Regions from separate parts of the Homo sapiens genome. Here region 1 is linked to region 2. Evidence: promoter capture Hi-C in 16 types of primary human blood cells and fetal thymus (Javierre and others, 2016). All regions are on one chromosome and are shown on one strand. The core of a region is centred on a gene start or on the middle of the fragment in contact, and the rest is flanking DNA. Distances in the headings are between cores, read along the strand shown. Region 1 has its middle 26 kb from the start of SEH1L. Region 2 holds the start of PRELID3A (PRELI domain containing 3A).

Region 1 (3,435 bases), core at 888-3,387, 510 kb before region 2:
AGGTCACTTCCAGGTGAGAGGTTTGGAATCAGGAGCTCCCACCTAGAAACAATGTTTCTGCCTCTGGACAGCATGAAGGCAATTGCTGCCAAGGTTTCTCATGCCTCATTGCACCCGGATCATGGTTTTATCAAGGTAGAATAAGGGACTAATACATCTTGGCAAATGCAAATATATTTGTTCAAACCATAAATGAATGAAAGCCAACTCATACATTCTTTTATCTTAAAGTTTTTTTTTTGGTTGTTTTTTTGTTTTGTTTTTTTGTTTTTTGTTTTTTGTTTTGTTTTGTTTTGACTCTGTCTCTCAGGCTGGAGTGCAGTGGCGCAATCTCGGCTCACCGCAATCTCTATTTCCCGGATTCAAGCAATTCTTCTGCTTCAGCCTCCTGAGTAGCGGGGATTACAGGCGCGTGCCACCACGCCCGGCTAATTTTTATATTCTTAGTAGAGATGGGGTTTTACCATGTTGGCCAGGCTGGTCTCGAACTCCTGACCTCAGGTGATCCACCTGCCTCGGTCTTCCAAAGTGCTGGGATTACAGGCATGAGCCACAGCGCCTGGCCCCAGCTAACTTTTTATTTTGTACAGATGGGCTCTCACTTTGTTACCCAAGCTGGTCTTTAACTCCTGGCTTCAAATGATTCTCCCGCCTCAGCCTCCCAAAGCGCTGAGACTACAAGTGTGAATCACGGCACCCAGCCCAAATACAGGCTATTTGGATGGCAGTACTTGTGGAGTGTAAGTTACAGCATAGAACTGCTTTCCCCTACTAGATCTGCCCTTCAGGTCCCATATTTTGAATAGGATAATCTTGGGTTTCCCTGCTACCTATTTTGTATTAAGTCCTCCAGTAAAGAGCGCCTTCTGCTTTCCTTGACCCTGTTTTTCAGTATCCTTTCAATATCCTTCAGTATCCTTCTTCATTGTCCTACTTGGCCAATTCTACTTGCGACTAAATCAATATGCCTACCACCAACCTGTGCGTCTTCCTAATTGTCACTGGTGTACCTTTTTTCACCTTGTGACTGTCTGGGACATCTCTGTCCATTGGAGCTTATGATCTCTGATAAGTCTTCTAATTACCAGTGTTCCATTCTGATACATATGTCAAGTGAAGAGACCTCACTTTATTTTTAAACCTCTTAAGGGTTGAAGTAGGATTTGGTATATCAGGAAACAACGGAACTAATTCTAAAACTATACCTTTATAATTATATTGAACTGAAATATAATATTGTTTGTAGAATGGAATTGGTATAAAGTGAATTTGGTTTTTTACCACATTTAATATTATGTATCCATCAGCTTTTTTGGGTTGCAATCATAAACAGAGACAAGATTTACTGGAGAGCTTTTGGAGCTCACAGAATCAACAGGAGCCTAGAGAATAGGAGGGAAGCAAGGGAGCTTTGGAAGCAATGGAAACTGTTATCATTCATGTATTCATTCAGTAAGCATTTAGTGAGCATTTACTATGTGCCAGTATTTTAACCAGTTTTCTACTGGCAGGCATCCAATTTGTTGCTGTTATAAACAGTGCAATCTAATGAATAAAATTTAAAAAAATCATTTTCTAGAGATGTATTTTTTTTTCCACGAATTATTTACTAAGCTTACTGGCATACTGTTTTTCATTTGAGGGGAATTTGAGGACAGGTCTTTGTATATGATCTTGAACTCTATAATGCTAAACTTCATTGCCTTGAGTGATACATTGACTTCTGCAAATGAGTCATTAAGACAAAATATTTATTTATTTATTTATTTATTTATTTATTTATTTATTTATTTATTGAGATGGAGTCTCACTTTGTTGCCCAGGCTGGAGTGCAGTGGTGTGATCTCAGCTCACTGCAACCTCCACCTCCCGGGTTCAAGTGATTCTCATGCTTCAGCCTCCCACGTAGCTGGGATTACAGGCGTGCACTACCACGCCCAGCTAATGTTTTGTATTTTTGGTAGAGACAGAGTTTCACCATGTTGGCCAGGCTGGCCTAGAACTCTTGACCTCAGACGATCTACCTGCCTCGGCCCCCCAGAGTGCTGGGATTACAGGCATGAGCTACCGTGCCTGGTCTATTGTTTATGGAAATGTCCCATAGTTAATTTTTTTTCTTAAGCAGCTAAAATATGAACTTTGATGTGCTTATGAAGGCTTTTTTGGTAAACACCTGCCTATTTTGCTGTTGAAATGCCTAAAAGATTACTGTAAGAGAGGCTGATTGATAGCATAAATGGGGAGTCTTTTCCTCCTTTACCAATCAATGCTACCTGCTTGGAAACTAATAAGCCTGTTACGCATCAAGAGCCTTATAAGTGTGACTTAGGCAAAGCTGGTGAGTAGACAGTTACTGTGGGTCATTTTCCTTGACAACACAGAGACCACTGAAGCTAACAGGAAGACGTTCTGGTGCTGATACAGAGAGGAAAGTCAACATAAAAACGCTCTCAGTGATGTGCACATTCCATCCCTGTTCGGTGTCCTCCTTGTGCTACACGCAGATAGCTGAGGTGTCATGGCTTAGGTGCTGCAAGGTGACTGTATTAAGCCCAGACACCCTCGCTCTCATGACAGCCCCCGAGTATGATACTGAGAGTGTGAAAGGGAAAGTGTATTTTTCTATGACCTGTGGTTTCTTCTGGCCTCACAAAGCTTTAGGCTTGTTTGTGTTTGACTTTTTGCTGTTTTTGCACTTTCAGAGCACTGTTTGTGGTTTGGAGGTGAAACTTTTCTTTAAAGTTCTTGTTAACATTTAGTTTGGCACAAAGTTTGCAAATAGGCGTGAAAAACATAGCACCATTTTCACTGTGAAGGAGGCTAAGTGGTTTCAGCAGCTTTTATTTATTTTTTTTTTTAATTTTTATTTCCATAGGTTACTGGGAAACAGGTGCCGTTTGGTTACATGAATAAGTTCTTTAGCGCTGATTTCTGAGATTTTGGTGCACCTATCATCCGAGCAGTACGCACTGCACCCAATTTGTAGGTTTGTTTGTTTTTCACTGAGTCTCGCTCTGTCAACCAGGCTGGAGTGCAGTGGCACGATCTCGGCTCACTGCAACCTCCGTCTCCCGGGTTCAAGCGATTCTCCTGCCTCAACCTCCCAAATAGCTGGGATTACAGGTGCTTGCTACCATGCCCGGCTAATTTTTGTATTTTTAGTGGAGATGGGGTTTCACCGTGTTGGGCAGGCTGGTCTTGAACTCCTGACCTCACCTCGGCCTCCCAAAGTGCTGGGATTACAGGCGTGAGCCACCGTGCCTGGCCTAATTTGTAGTATTTTATCCCTCATCCCCTTCCCACCCCTTGCCCTTTATCCCCCAAAGTCCATTGTGTTATTCTTATGCCTTTGCATCCTCATAGCTTAGCTCCCACTTATGAGTGAGAACATATGATGTTTGGTTTTCCATTCCTGAGTTACTTCACTTAGAATAA
Region 2 (3,161 bases), core at 366-2,865:
GACTTCATGAAAAATAATTTCAGAGGTTTTGAAACCACTTGATATATTTTTATTATAATTTTACATGTTTAAAGTCAGGCCAGTCACGGTGGCTCACACCTATAATCCCAGCACTTTGGGAGGCCGAGGCGGGTGGATCACCTGAGGTCAGGAGCTCGAGACCAGCCTGGCCAACATGGCGAAACCCTGTTTCTACTAAAAATACAAAAATTAGCCGGGCGTGATGGCCCACACCTGTAGTCCCAGCTACTCAGGAGGCTGAGGCACGAGAATCACTTGAACCCAGGAGGGGGAGGTTACAGTGAGCCAAGATCGCGCCATTGCACTCCAACCTGGGTGACCCAGCGAGCCTATGTCTCAAAAAAAAAAAAAAAAAAAAAAAAACCCAGCCTGGGTGACAGAATGAGACTCTGTCTCGAAAAAAATAAATAAAAAGAGTCAAAGGATGACAATTTCCTTCCACGCAGTACTTTTTTTCCCCCCAAAATAAAATATTTAATGCTTAAGTGAGGTCAGATAATTAAAAAATCTTTGTTGCTGTAAATAAACATTAAAGAATAATTTCAGTGTGTCACAGATCACTGACTTAAGGAAAAGATACCACTTAGGTTAGGAGGGCACTTTTTTCTTCTTTTTATTTGCACAATTCTATGGAGTATATGTGCAATTTCGTTACATGCATAAATTTCGTAGTGGTCAAGTCAGGACTTCTAGGGTATGCATTACCCGGGAAGGTGTCTTGCACCCATTAAGCAATTCTCATTATCCTCCCTGCACCCACCCCCTCACCCTTCAGAGTCTCCATCATCTGACGTTCCACTCTCCACATCCATGTGAACACATTCTTAAGCACCCACTTAGGAGTGGGAACATGCGATACTTGTCTTTCTGGGCCTGGCTTCACTTAAGATAATGACCTCCACTTCCATCCGTGTGCCGGGGGAGCATTTTTAAACAGTTCGAGGTTTTCCACGCTAGCTTGGAGGCCTTCCATGCCTACAAGTGAGTTCAGAGCCAGGGCCCCCGAAATGCCTTCTGCCCCTTTAGCTTCCTCCAGAGCTCACAGCCCGCCGTGGGCCCTCCGTGAAACGCGCGGAAGGTTTATGACAATCTCAGCAAAGGCGCCAGCTTGCAGGCCTCTCCCCTGCCCTGCTCCCGACCCCAAGGAGAGCAGCGAGCGCCAGGCCCCCGGCCGCCCCCCCGGCTCCGGCCGCCCCCGCCCCGGCCGCCCCCGCTCCGGCTGCCCCCGCCCTGGCTGTCGACCACCAGCGGGGCCTCTGTGCCTGCAGCCAGGCCCCTGCGCACGCCGGGGGAGAGGCCGTACCCGGCGCAGAGCCTCGCCCAGACCGCGGTCCCGGGGAAGCGCGCGTGCCCTCTCCGGGACGCCGAAGTTGCGGTCTGGGAACGGCCGGCGCGGGGCGGGGATCTCCGCGAGGCCCGCTGTGAGGTCCGGCCTTTCCTGGACCGCTCCAGCCGGGCTCGGGAGCAGGAGCCGGCGTCTGGACGGCCCCACCGCGGCCCTCAGCCCGGCCTCACCCAAACACGTGCTCCGAGCTCCAGATCTTCATTGCCGCCGGCGCAGGGCGCGGGCTCTGCGATCCGGGCCGGGTGCTTCGGGCCGCGCGGCTCCGGGCGCGGCGTGGGCGGGGCCTCGATGGGCGGGGCGCCCTTGGATGCCGCCCACCCCGTCTGGTGGCTAGGCTGGCTGCAGCGGCTAAAAATAGCTCTGCGGGCGCGGCTGTGGCGCAGCCCCAGACCTGCGCTGCTACCCTGGGGTGCGCGATGCGCGCTTGCTGCAGATGCCGCGGGCGTAGGAGGCGACGCTCGTCCTTACTCCCACTGTCCAAATTCTCCCAAGGCCCTGTCCAGCTACGCCGGTTTGTACTGTCGGGGACGTGTGATGAAAAACAAACCTGCCAACCCTCAAAACTCCACTGCAGTTTGGGTCTTGAACAAACATTAAACCAGCATGTGAGGCCGGGCGCGGTGGCTCACGCCTGTAATCCCAGCACTTTGGGAGGCCGAGGCGGGCGGATCACGAGGTCAGGAGATCAAGACCATCCTGGCTAACACGGTGAAACCCCGTCTCTACTAAAAATACAAAAAATTAGCCGGGCGTGGTGGCGGGCGCCTGTAGTACCAGCTGCTCGGGAGGCTGAGGCAGGAGAATGGCGTGAACCCGGGAGGCGGAGCTTGCAGTGAGCCGAGATCCCGCCACTGCACTCCAGCCTGGGCAACAGAGCGAGACTCCGTCTCAAACAAAACAAAACAAAACAAAACAAAACAAAACAAAACCAGCATGTGATGTGCATCACAAGCAATCCGCCAAATAGGCTGCAAAGACAGAAATCTCAGCCTGTATCAAACAGCCGGGAGGATGCAACCTACCCCACGCATGCTCCCGAGGTAAACGAGACAGCCCTCCGGGGAGGGGACTCCACTACACCATTTGTCGCAGAGTTCATCCTAAATTCGCCTGATGATGGAGTGGCCATTGGTAAATGCAGTGGCCATTTGCGTTTGCTAATTGCCTTTATCCAAAGGAAAAATGAATTTTCATACCTTTATGACAGGAGGTAGGTTTACAATTTGAAGCCAGGTGCTCTCTGGTAGCTGGGCTCCTACCCTCCCACAAAACTGGGAGACGGGGATGACATTTCAAAGAGATGACTCCCAAGTCCTTGAGAAAATACATTCTTGAGTTATAAAACTGGGGGGAAATCTTATTTAGCTTTAAAAAAATGTACGTGTATCTCAAAAAGAATTTGTGATTACAACTTGGCAAATCCTCTAAGGAAAAAGAGTCTCCCTTTCGCATAAACTACTTTTTAGCTTTGCAAAGTACCCTGCACTGCCACAAACGAAGTTGAAGTGCACGGAAGTGAGATGCTTGTTCTAAGAAGAGGGTACTCTTCTCCAGGATGAGATAGGGCGAGAGGGCAGGGCCCTTGTCTGAGTCGGCTGAGTCTCAGCCTAGAGCAGCGCCTGGCGCCCCTGGGGCGTCCGTGGGCGTGGGGAGCGCATTTGTGCAGTGAGGCAGGGAAGTGGAAGAGCACACAGCATGACCCGAAAGACCTGGGCTACAGTCCTGGCTCCACCGTCCACTCACATTGACCTCTACCTCCTACAGCGTTAAGCTCAGGATGATCTTCCAAAGTTGG

The links. The method cuts DNA at HindIII sites, captures the fragments that hold promoters and counts their contacts. A CHiCAGO score of 5 or more calls a contact.
Region 1: a fragment that was not itself captured here is called in contact with the fragment with the promoter of PRELID3A in region 2 in 2 of 17 cell types (naive CD8 T cells and total CD8 T cells); the score reaches 7.3 in naive CD8 T cells.

Annotation. Positions count from the first base shown.
Region 1 is chr18:12,920,534-12,923,968 of GRCh38, reverse strand. No RefSeq gene overlaps it. Among named protein-coding and RNA genes, the nearest start is that of SEH1L, 26 kb to the left of the region's middle. The HindIII fragment of the contact is 1,041 bases long and covers 1,617-2,657 here.
Region 2 is chr18:12,406,383-12,409,543 of GRCh38, reverse strand. PRELID3A (PRELI domain containing 3A) reads right to left here and starts at 1,615. Exons shown (of 7, transcript NM_001142405.2): 1 at 1,537-1,615. The coding sequence starts at 1,568. RefSeq lists enhancers at 788-1,037, 895-1,554, 1,555-2,216 and a silencer at 1,238-1,817. The HindIII fragment of the contact is 9,540 bases long and covers 1-3,161 here.